Linked DNA regions of Homo sapiens: region 1 is linked to region 2. Evidence: promoter capture Hi-C in human tissues and cell types (Jung and others, 2019). All regions are on one chromosome and are shown on one strand. The core of a region is centred on a gene start or on the middle of the fragment in contact, and the rest is flanking DNA. Distances in the headings are between cores, read along the strand shown.

Evidence for each region. The method cuts DNA at HindIII sites, captures the fragments that hold promoters and counts their contacts. A contact is called where the count stands out against the background at its distance.
Region 1: a contact is called between a fragment that was not itself captured here and the fragment with the promoter of FLT3 in region 2, in 3 of the 25 tissues and cell types used here (aorta, liver and mesendoderm cells).

What each region holds. Positions count from the first base shown.
Region 1 is chr13:28,286,790-28,292,504 of GRCh38, forward strand. PAN3 (poly(A) specific ribonuclease subunit PAN3) reads left to right here. Exons shown (of 19, transcript NM_175854.8): 18 at 1,195-1,333; 19 at 5,593-5,715. LOC124903140 (a long non-coding RNA gene) reads right to left here and starts at 1,198. Exons shown (of 2, transcript XR_007063735.1): 1 at 1-1,198. RefSeq lists enhancers at 2,265-2,766, 2,767-3,266. The HindIII fragment of the contact is 6,716 bases long and covers 1-5,715 here.
Region 2 is chr13:28,097,713-28,103,201 of GRCh38, forward strand. It overlaps FLT3 (fms related receptor tyrosine kinase 3), which reads right to left and starts at 2,864. Exons shown (of 24, transcript NM_004119.3): 1 at 2,756-2,864. The coding sequence starts at 2,798. RefSeq lists silencers at 2,698-2,857, 2,978-3,037 and an enhancer at 3,148-3,277. The HindIII fragment of the contact is 18,739 bases long and covers 498-5,489 here.

The DNA.
Region 1 (5,715 bases), core at 1,203-3,702, 190 kb after region 2:
ATTGGAAGTCCTTGGAGTGACCTTTGCAAACATACATATATGATTGTGCTAAAACCATATGGTGAACTTCTCCTCTGGTTCTTAGAATAAAGACCCAGTTTTAAAACATGTCCTAAGCTGTGTAGTCTGATCCCTACCTACTTCTCATCCTGGCGTCAAATCTGCCTTTTATTTAATTTTCTTCCCCCCATCCCCCATTCTTTGTTCTTGTCTTCACTCTGTTCCTTTTCCTTGCCCTTACCCTCCCTCTCCGTGTATTCTGTCGTCTTTTCTTCTCTTTTCTCCCCCAACCCATTCAGACACATGACCTTCCTTAAGTTTCTTCAATGTCCATGCAAATACCGATCTCTGACGAAGGAGCATCCTTCTTCTGGGAAGAGCAGCCACTACTTCCTCTGGAAAACCTTCCTTAATTGCTTTATATACTTATATTCACACATAATTTTACATAAATTTAATGTTATACATTTTCTGTAATCATTGTTTTTACCTATTTTTTCTTAATGGGAATTGTATCACAGTTTGATCTGGGAAGCAGAACGACTTTAAATGATACAGAAAAGGGATTATCAGCCAGGCGCGGCCCTAGATAAATTCATCTTCGTTTTATATCATATTCCTTTTAGGAGCATTATGTAAATATGCAGTTACAGCTTTCTTTGATTATTTGAATAACGTCTGTTTCCTACTAGACTGTAAGTTCCTAAGGTCACTGAAAACTCACAGTGGTCATCTGGTTCTTCACAGCTTGTTTTCACATGGAATGGTAGGAAACCGATATTTACTTCCTTTTTGTTTCCTAAACATTTTTCTATTTTATGCTTATTGGTGAAGTAGAAGATGTACCTGACCTTTCTCTATTCTGTAACCTACAGAGTGGGAGGAAGAGAAGAGAAGATATTTAAAGATATTTTTACCTTTTCCATTTTATCTAATGGTAGGGGCTGAAATAAGGAGGTAATGTAAAATAGGAATGCATAAGGGATGATTTCCCCCTGACATTTGCTAACTGAAAACTGGAATTCATAGACTTACTAGTTCAGTTAGATTATTTTTTAAAAACACTGTACCAGACTCCCTCCCAATTTTTTGTTTATTGGGAAAAAGTAAAACTAGTTTGGAGTCTAAAAAATAGACATATGGCCACAGACCATACAGCATGAGTTACTGAGGTAAAATGTTCATTTCCCCCAGGTTTCAGAAGGATCCCACTTGGTCAGAGACTGGAGACCGTTATCTGTTGAAACTCTTTAGGGATCATCTTTTTCATCAGGTGACAGAAGCAGGTGCTCCCTGGATTGACCTCAGTCATATAATTTCTTGTCTTAACAAGGTAATTTGTATCTAGATTTTTTAAGATCATAATTCTGCCTATAATTTGTATAGAGTTGTATCTTCTACAAATACTAGGAAACTTAAGAAATCAGGATGTACTCTTAAAGTAGCCTGTAAGACGTTTTATTAATAACATTTTCTACAATGGGAGGATTTTTACAATACTTGCATGAATAATTTTTTGGGGCAGTGGAGGACAGAGTCTTGCTCTGTTGCCCAGGCTGGAGTGCAGTGGCCTGATTTTGGCTCACTGCAACCTCTGCCTCCCGGGTTCAAGTGATTCTCCTGCCTGAGCCTCCCGAGTAGCTAGGATTACAGGCACCCATCACCATGCGCAGCTAATCTTTAGTAGCGACAAGGTTTCACCATGTTGGCCAGGCTGGTCTCGAACTCCTCACTTCAAGTGATTCGCCTGCCTCAGCCTCCCAAAGTGGTAGGATTATAGGCGTGAGCCACTGCGCCTGGCCTTCATGAATAATTTTAGAATGTTTTATTGTGGATCTTTTTATTATGATAAAGTATCACAAAATGACTGCTTCCCTCCTTTATGCAATGTTTTATTTACATGTGGTTTTGTTATGCCGCTTAAAACAGTGAATGGTAAAAAGCAAAAAAATAATTTTGTGTTTATTTTTTAAAAATTGAACCCCTTCCGAATCATTGTGAGTTATGTTGGGTGTTATCAAATCATTATTAACTATAGATTTTTTTTTTTTTTTTTTTTGAGACGGAGTCTCTGTCACCCAGGCTGGAGTGCAGTGGCGCCATCTAGGCTCACTGCAAGCTCCGCCTCCCGGGTTCACGCCATTCTCCTGCCTCAGCCTCCCAAGTAGCTGGGACTACAGGCACCCACCACCATGCCCGGCTAATTTTTTGTATTTTTAGTAGAGACAGGATTTCACCATGTTAGCCAGGATGGTCTCGATCTCCTGACCTCGTGATCCACCCGCCTCAGCCTCCCAAAGTGCTGGGATTACAGGCATGAGCCACCGCACCCGGCCTAACTCTAGGTTTTATAATCAAGTAGTAAATAATAAAAGCACAATACTAGTGACATCAGTTACTAGCAGGTCCAGCTGTTATAAATGGTGAATTTGATGATTAGATGAATTAAGTAGATAAAAAATAGATCATAAATTTATTTGAGAGGTGAGGTGAGCTTTTTTTTGGAACGGGGTTTTGATCTGTCACCCAGGCTATAGTGCAGTCGCACTTATGGCTCACTGCAGCCTTGACTCCCCAGGGCTGCAGTGGTCCTCCTTCCCACCTCAGTCTCCTGAATAGCTGGGACCACAGGCACACGCCACCACACCCAGCTAATTTTTGTCCTTTTGGTCGATACGGGATTTCACCATGTTGCTCAGGCTGGTCCCAAACTCCTGAGATTAAGCAGTCCACCCACCCCCAAAGTGTTGGGATAATAGCCGTGAGCCACCACGCCCAGCAGCATTATGTTTTAGAAAAGGTTGGGAAAAGGCTAGGCGCAGTAGCTCGCGCCTGTAATCCCAGCACTTTGGGAGGCCACGGCGGGCGGATCACGAGGTCAGGAGATCGAGACCATCCTGGCTAACACGGTGAAACCCCGTCCCTACTAAAAAATTAAAAAAGTTAGCCGGGCATGGTGACAGGCACCAGTAGTCCCAGCTACTCGGGAGGCTGAGACAGGAGAATGGCGTGAACCCGGGAGGCGGAGTTTGCAGTGAGCCGAGATTGGGCCACTGCACTCCAGTCTGGCCGATAGAGCGAGACTCCGTCTCAAAAAAAAAAGAAAGAAAAGATTGGGAAAGACAAAATTTACAGAGAAAAGAAAGAAGACAGTTCCCTTATGAATTACTTGGCATTATGAAGTTTAGAACTGGTCTCCAGGAGTAAATGTAGTCTCTGTATAGGTTTATGTATAAACCAGGAGCTGGTAAGCCATGGCCTGCAGGCCAAATCCGTTCTATGGCCTATTTTTTTAAAGCGTGAGAGCCTCGAATAGTTTTACATTTTTAAAGAGTTGTAAAATAAACAATAAGCCAAACCTAAAACATTTACCGTCTGACCCTTTATAGAAAACATTTACTGACTCTTGGTCTAAACTTTCCTAAATTATAAGTACTAGAGGAAAAAATATCTACTGTAGCACATGATTTAGAACTATTAATGTACAGTGTGGTAACCTTTCAGGGAAAATGTTACGGTTTGTTTTTAAGCACTACTTTGCCTTCCTTTAACTTCCTTAAAACTCTATAAGGAGTATTGTCAATAACCTACATTAAGACTGCACAAAACTGGCCAGGCTCGGTGTCTCACGCCTGTAATCCCAGCACTTTGGGAGGCCCAGGTGCACGGATCACCTGAGGTCGGGAGTTTGAGACCAGCCTGGCCAATGTGGAGAAACCCCATCTCTACTAAAAATACAAAATTAGCCGGGCGTGGTGGTACATGCCTGTAATCCCAGCTACTTCGGAGGCTGAGGCAGGAGAATCATTTGAACCCCAGGAGGCAGAGGTTGCAGTGAGCCGAGATTGTGCCATTGTACTCCAGCCTGGGCAACAAGAGCAAAACTCTGTATCAAAAAAAGAAAAAAGACTGCACAAGACTATATGTATCATTGAACTAATTCAGTATGAGTTATATATTTATTTTCCCTTTATTTATGTTAGGGGAAAAACCTTTTCTTGAGAGCAATATGTAGAAAATAATTCTGTCAGATTTTAGAGCATAGTATCAGAGTACCAGTAGTTAAAAATACGTAGAACCAGAACAAACATTGACAAGTAGGTAATATGGAATAAGCCATGGACAGTTGCCTTAAGCAAAGATCATTTAATGAATATTAGGATAATATTAAATTCATCAAAGATCATTTAATGAATATTAGGATAATTGAAAATTTGAAGAAAATTCTGTTTCACATCATGAACTAGCTAGTAGTAAATAATACCCCAAATCTGAAGTGTGACAATATTCTAAGTTTGAAAAGAGTGTGATAAATTAAAAGGGAAGGATGGCCAGATTGATTATACAAAATTAAGATTTTATATAAGCTTATTTTGGTAGAAATAATGACAGAAATTGTCTGGTAAATGATTTGAATGTTTGAGCCTTCAGTGAGTTGTAAACATATTTTAATGAATTATGTATCAATTAATGAAATAAAGTACATTGAAAATAACAAAAATAAAGTGAAAACCATAACAAGACAAGTTGATAGACTAAGGATCAGTATTTATGCTTTACAAAGACCTCACTAAAATATTACTGCCAAATTCCATTAGGGTCATGAGTAAAGATCATATACTAGCATTTACACAAGCAGAAATACCAAAAGTAAATGTATGAAAAAACTTTGATAATAGTAGTTAAAATCTAAATTTAAATAGCAAGGTGCTCATTTGCTGTGGGGTTGCTGGAAAAGTATTAAAATCTTATAAATTAGGCTGGGCACGGTGGCTCACACCTGTAATCCCAGTACTTTGGGAGGCCGAGGCGGGTGGATCGCCTGAGGTCAGGAGTTCGAGACCAGCCTGGCCAACATGGCGAAACCCCGTCTCTACTTAAAATACAAAATATTAGCTGGGCGTGGTGGCAGGTGCCTATAATCCCAGCTACTCGGGAGGTTGAGGCAGGAGAATTGCTTGAACCCGGGAGGCAGAGGTTGCAGTGAGCCAAGATTGCGCCATTGCACTCCACCCTGGGCAACGAGCGAAACTCCATCCCCAAAAATTAAATAAATAAAAATAAAAACTTATAAATTCATGGTGTCTGATTGGAAAACAATTTGGTTCTATGTACTAAGCTATAAAACCACTTCTACTTTACTTTTTTGTGTTTTTTTAAAATTTTTTAAAAACCAATTTCTTAATACTTTACATTTTATTATTAATATTTATACTTCTAAGTATTTTTCCTAAGGAAAAAGTACTTCCCACAGAAGAAAAAAATTAAGTAGATGAGTATGTTCATTGCACTGTAATTTATTATGCCAAAAATGGAAGATACTGGGAGAAAAATTATGGAGCATCAACTGGGTAAACTATAATACAAACAAACGTTAAGCGTGAAGGGATAGAAACATAGGGCAGTGTTTGTGTAAAAATGTCTGAGTCGAAAATTATGTGCATACTGATGAATGATATAAATGTACTCATGGATATCTGAAAGGGAATGTGACAAAAAAAATTTAGATATTTTATTTATTTTTGCTGCAAACGTAGATAAATTCTTTTCTGCATGTTATGAATTTCATATTTTGTGTATATATTGTTTCAGCTAGATGCTGGTGTGCCAGAAAAAATAAGCCTGATTTCCAGAGATGAGAAGAGTGTACTTGTGGTGACCTACAGTGACTTAAAGCGCTGCTTTGAAAATACTTTTCAAGAACTGATTGCAGCT
Region 2 (5,489 bases), core at 1,614-4,113:
TTGCTGAGTGTCCCTTCCCTCCACTTTCTCCTGAATCATTCCCCCTTGGGCTAGGAGTTTCCAAGAAGGCAAATAAACTAAGATAAGCAACAAGAGCAAAGAATGGCAACTCAAATGTGCAGTTCAAGGCTTTGAATACGAATTTTTTTTAACACTAATGAAAAAGGTAGTATCATAGCTCTTAAAATATTGAAATACTTCTCTCTGTCCAGTATCAGCAGATAATGCAGAAAAGCCCATTGGGAACATGTTCCTCTCCTTCAAATGCCACTTAGAAAGCTTCATCATTATTCATAAATGATGAATAGAAGTCTGGGCATGGCCGGGTGTGGTGGCTCATACCTGTAATCCCAGCGCTTTGGGAGGCTGAGGTGGGTGGATCGCCTAAGGTCAGGAGTTCGAGACCAGCCTGGCCAACATGGTGAAACCTCGTCTCTACTAAAAATACAAAAATTAGCTGGGTGCGGTGGCACGCACCTGTAATCCCAGCTACTCAGGAGGCTGAGGCAGGAGAATCGCTTGAACCTGGGAGGCGGAGGTTGCAGTGAGCTGAGATCGCGCCACTACACTCCAGCCTGGGTGACAGAGCAAGACTCCGTCTCAAAAAAAAAAAAAAAAAAAAAAGTAGTGTTTACAATATAAGGGAAATTGGGATCCCATGTTCTAATTCAAAGAATTTAAGGCTATTAACCATTTTAAAGTTCTCATGTTTAAGCTTCTCACTTTATCCTTCTTTATTCAAGAAAATCCATAATACAAAGTATTGGCAAAGATGTGAGGAACTGGAACTGCCATACACTGCTAGTGGGAGTGGAAATTGGTGTAACCACTGTGGAAAACCGTTTGACGGTATCTACCAAACCTGAACATATCCCTTCCCTATGATCCAGGAATTCTACTTGTGGGCATAATCCTTTATACTGGTGTTTATGTCCACCATATATAAAACAATGTTCACAGCAGTGCTATGCATAATTACACAAAATTGGAACAACTTCCATGTGCTTCGTGAACATAATGGATAAAATAAATTATAAGATCTATTCATACCACGGAATGGTACCAGCAATTAAAAAAAAAAACACTGCTACAGAGAACAAGGTTGAATCTTATTATTATAATGTTGAGTAAAAGAAGGTGGACATAAAAGAGCACACGATGATGGTTTGGTTTACATGAAGTTCAAACATAGGCAAAAGCAATCCATGGCATCAGAAGTCAGAATAGTGGCTACCTGGGGAGGGGGTACTGACAGAGAGGGTGGAGCTAGAATTGCTCTATATCTCAGTCTGATCGTGGTTATTTGGGCACGTACATATGTGAAAACTAATGAAATTGTACTCTTAAGATGTGTGCATATTTACTGTGTGCCAATTATACTTCATTTAGAAATATCTGGAGAGAGAGACATAGAAATTTCTGAATTCTTTCCTAAATAGAAAAGAATTCCATGCAGCTTAAATATCGTTGCAAGTATTGATGCTTATACCTTTAGAAAGCCCATTATGCTTCTGAAAAATGCACTTACTACTTAATATCATACATAATAGAAAGCTAACATTTTGTATTAACGGAATCTGGAAAACATATTGTACTACACATTTGAAATTACAGATTTACTAACTAGTAAAGATAACTATTTAAGAACTAAAATGTCTTTGTTTTTCAACTCTTTTCCCCCGATTTCCATTTTTTACTTTTTATATTTCAGAATTATTTGTAACAAAAGCTATTGGATATAATTCCTGCACTTCTATATTGCAAGCATTTTCTCTATTTACCACAGAGACTTCAAGTCCTAGCATTTCAGAGCTGAAGGGGACTCGGACGGACTCCCTCACTGCACAGATGAGGACGCGGAGGCCGGGGGAGGTGAGTGTCAGTCCCAAGGTTGCAGACCTAGGACAGGGACCGGAGCTGCCGGGCACCCAGAACTCTGTCGCCTTCAACCCAAATTCGATTCAGTCCTCTCATCTTTCCAAATAGAAAGCTGACGCGAACCGATGGGAAGATTTTTTTTTTCAATAACAACTATGCTACCCAGCAGATTCTTTGGGGACAGTCCTCGGAGTCCTTGAAAACCCCTTTGGGGTTTATGCCAGGATAAGAAGAGACTAGAAGAAAGGGACAGCTAGTATTTTAATATGTAAATCTGTTTGCATAATATTTCCTAGGTAAACTATTCGTTGATCCAACCAAAATTCGGCGGGGCTGGGGGGTATCGTTATTGAGGATGACTCGCTCTAGGGGAGAACGCGGACGCATTTTCCCATCAGAGTTCCCTCCATAAATCAAAACCTCAAAAGAAGAGTTAAAGACGACACCCAGGTGTCTACAGTATCCAAGGGCCGGGCCAGGAGAGGTCCTTGGCCACCTGGCGCCGAGTTCGCGGCCGCAGACTCCCACGGACGGCCCAGCACCCGAGCGCGCGGGCCGAGCTGCCCCAGACCCGGCGCAGCGCCTCGGCGAGGCCGTCTGCGAAGTCCGGGCCGCCACTCGGGACCGCGGCCCGAGCCAGAGGAGAGACTTCGGAGAAGAGGGAAGAGGACGCGGGGTGGGAAACGCCGGGGCCGCAGGCAAGTAGTGGGCGAGTCCGGAGGGCGCGAAAGAGGGGAGGGGCGCGGGAGGCAATGGAAGGAGCGAGCGCGGGGAGGAGCGAGGCGGCTGGGCCGGAGGAGGCGCGCGCCCGGGTCCACACTGCGGGGTGGGGGCTGAGGGACCGCGAGGGGCTGCGAGCGAGCGAGCGGGGCCTTACCGAGCAGCGGCAGCTGGCCGCCGTCGCGCGCCAACGCCGGCATGGCCTCCGGAGCCCGGGGTCCCCAGGCCGCGCCGGCCCAGCCCTGCGATGCCGCCTGGAGCGGCGCGCCTCGCGCTGCAGGTGGCTCTCTTAAGGATGCGCGTCACCGACCGCAAATTCCCTCGGACTGGTGCAAAGTGGAAGGGGGGAGGAACCCTCTCCCCAGAGGCAGGGACCGAGGCGGGAGCGGAGAGGTTGGGCAGAGCCGAGCAGCCGGTGCCTGGCGCAGCGCTGCAGCCGAGCCCACGTGCCCGCCGCGGTCCGCAGCCTGTGCTCGGCGGCCCCCGGGGCTCCCCGACTGCGGCGGGGAAGATTGGGCGCGGTCCCGCCGGAGAAGTTGCACTGGCTCCGCGGCTCTGCCGCCTTGCTGCCCCTGTGAGTCCCCGAACTCTGTCGTTTGGATCCGGGGCGTGGGGACTGCAGGGAGCCACAAACCACCCTCCTAGTGCGCTGGGATCTTTGAGGCCCTGAGAAAGGCGCTGAATCCGCTCGGCACGCTGGCAACTCCCGCCAGCGCACAGGCGAGCATTCCATTAAGAACCATTCCATTCTTAATTGTGGACTGATTTCCTTTGTCTCTGCCTCCATCTCCTAGGATGCTCAGGACCCAGTCAGCGGCGGGATCAAGAAAAACAGGCAGGGTTTCAATGTCAACCAAGGCAATTAGGGAGGTTAACAAACAGCCTTCAAAACAAAACACACAGAAAATACATCCCAGAGGATGTTGCGAATCATCCGCTCAATAGTTCTTGTTCTTCATCGCATAATTTTTCGAGTTGAAAATTATTATTATTTTCTTTGCAATAAGTTGAGGATTGGAAAGCTCTGGATGCCAGTTCTGGTTCTTCCCTTACTTAACTAGCCGTTTGACCTCCACAAACCTCTGTTTACTCATCGTAAAGGAAAGGGATGGACCAAATGGTTCATAATGTCTCTCCCAATTCTAGGAATTCCACGCTCTTAATTATTTTAATTATTTTCTAATAAAGCATGAAAATTGACTGTTTACTCTTGGCCATACAGTTCTTTTCCTTAGATGTTGTCTACAGTACAATAATTCTTTCCCCTAGGGTATGGCAGAAACTTTAGAAGTGTCTACCATGGTGCAGCCACTATGGAAAACACTATAGAGGTTTCTCAAAAAATTAAAAAAAATACGGTCCAACAATTCCATTTCTGGCCATGTAGCCAAAAGAATTGAAAGCAGGGTCTTGAAGAGATGTCTGTACACCCGTGTTGAAAGCAGCATTATTCACAGTAGTCAAAAGGCAGAAGTAACCCATGTCCACAACAGATGAATGATAAACAAAAATGCAGTATATACATACGACTGAGTATTTTTCAGCTTTAAAGAGGAGGGAAATTCTGATACAGCTAAAATATGGATGAATCTTGACATTATGCTAAGTGAAATAAGCTAGTCCCAAAAAATACAATACTGTATCCCATTACAAATTCATAAAGACAGAAAGTTAAATGGTGGTTACCATGGGCTGGGGGCAGGGGGAAATGGGGAGCCAGTGTTTAATGGATACAGAGTTTCAGTTTTGCAAGATGAGCAGAGTTCTGGAGACTGGTTGCACAACAATGTGAATGTACTTAACGCTACTAAACTGTACACTTAAAAATGGCTAAGGCTGGGTGCGGTGGCTCATGCCTGTAATCCTAGCACTTTGGGAGGCCGAGGTGGGCAGATCACCTGAGGTCAGCAGTTCGAGACCAGCCTAGCCAACATGGTGAAACCCCATCTCTACAAAAATGCAACAATTAGCCAGGCGTAGTGGCGCATGCCTGTAATCCCAGCTACCTGGGAGGTTGAGGCAGGAGAATCACTGGAACCCGGGAGGCAGAGGCTGCAGTGAGCTGAGATCACACCACTGCACTCCAGCCTGGGTGACAGAGTGAGACTCTGTCTCAAAAACAAAAACAAAAACAAAAAGTTAAGATGGTAAATTTTATGTATGTGTATTTTACCTCAATTTTAAATTTTTTAAGTTTTTGTGTAGCTGCTGGGGGTTTAAAAATTTTTTTAAAGAGTGTTGTGTCTACCTTAGGTCAGAAACAGAAGTGAAGGAAGATGGCCTGAAATAAGTGAAACATGAGGAGATAAAGCAATGAAACAGGCTGGTTATGGGGAGAAAAGCGAGCTTCCAATGGCCAAGACCTAACACACTACCTTCTATTTAAAGCTCAATTACTGTCTTAAAGGAAACTGATTGGCTGGGCGCTGTGGCTCATGCCTGCAATCCCAGCGCTTTGGGAGGCCAAAGCGGGTGGATCATTTGAGGTCAGGAGTTGGAGACCAGCCTGACCAACATGGTGAAACCCCATCTCTAACAAAAATACAAAAATTAGCTGGGCATGGTGGCACTGTAGTCGTAGCTACTTGGGAGGCTGAGGCAGGGGAATTGCTTGAACCCAGGAAGCAGATGTTGCAGTGAACTGAGATCATGCCACTGCACTCCAGCCTGGGCAACAGAGCAAGACTTGGTCTTCGCCGGGCGTAGTGGCTCATGCCTGTAATCCCAGCACTTTGGGAAGCTAAGGCAGGTGGATCACGAGGTCAGGAGTTCAAGACCAGCCTGGCAAAGATGGTGAAACCTGTCTCTACTAAAAATACAAAAAATTAGCCAGGCGTGGTGGCATACGCCTGTAATCCCAGCTACTCAGGAGGCTGAGGCAGAGAATTGCT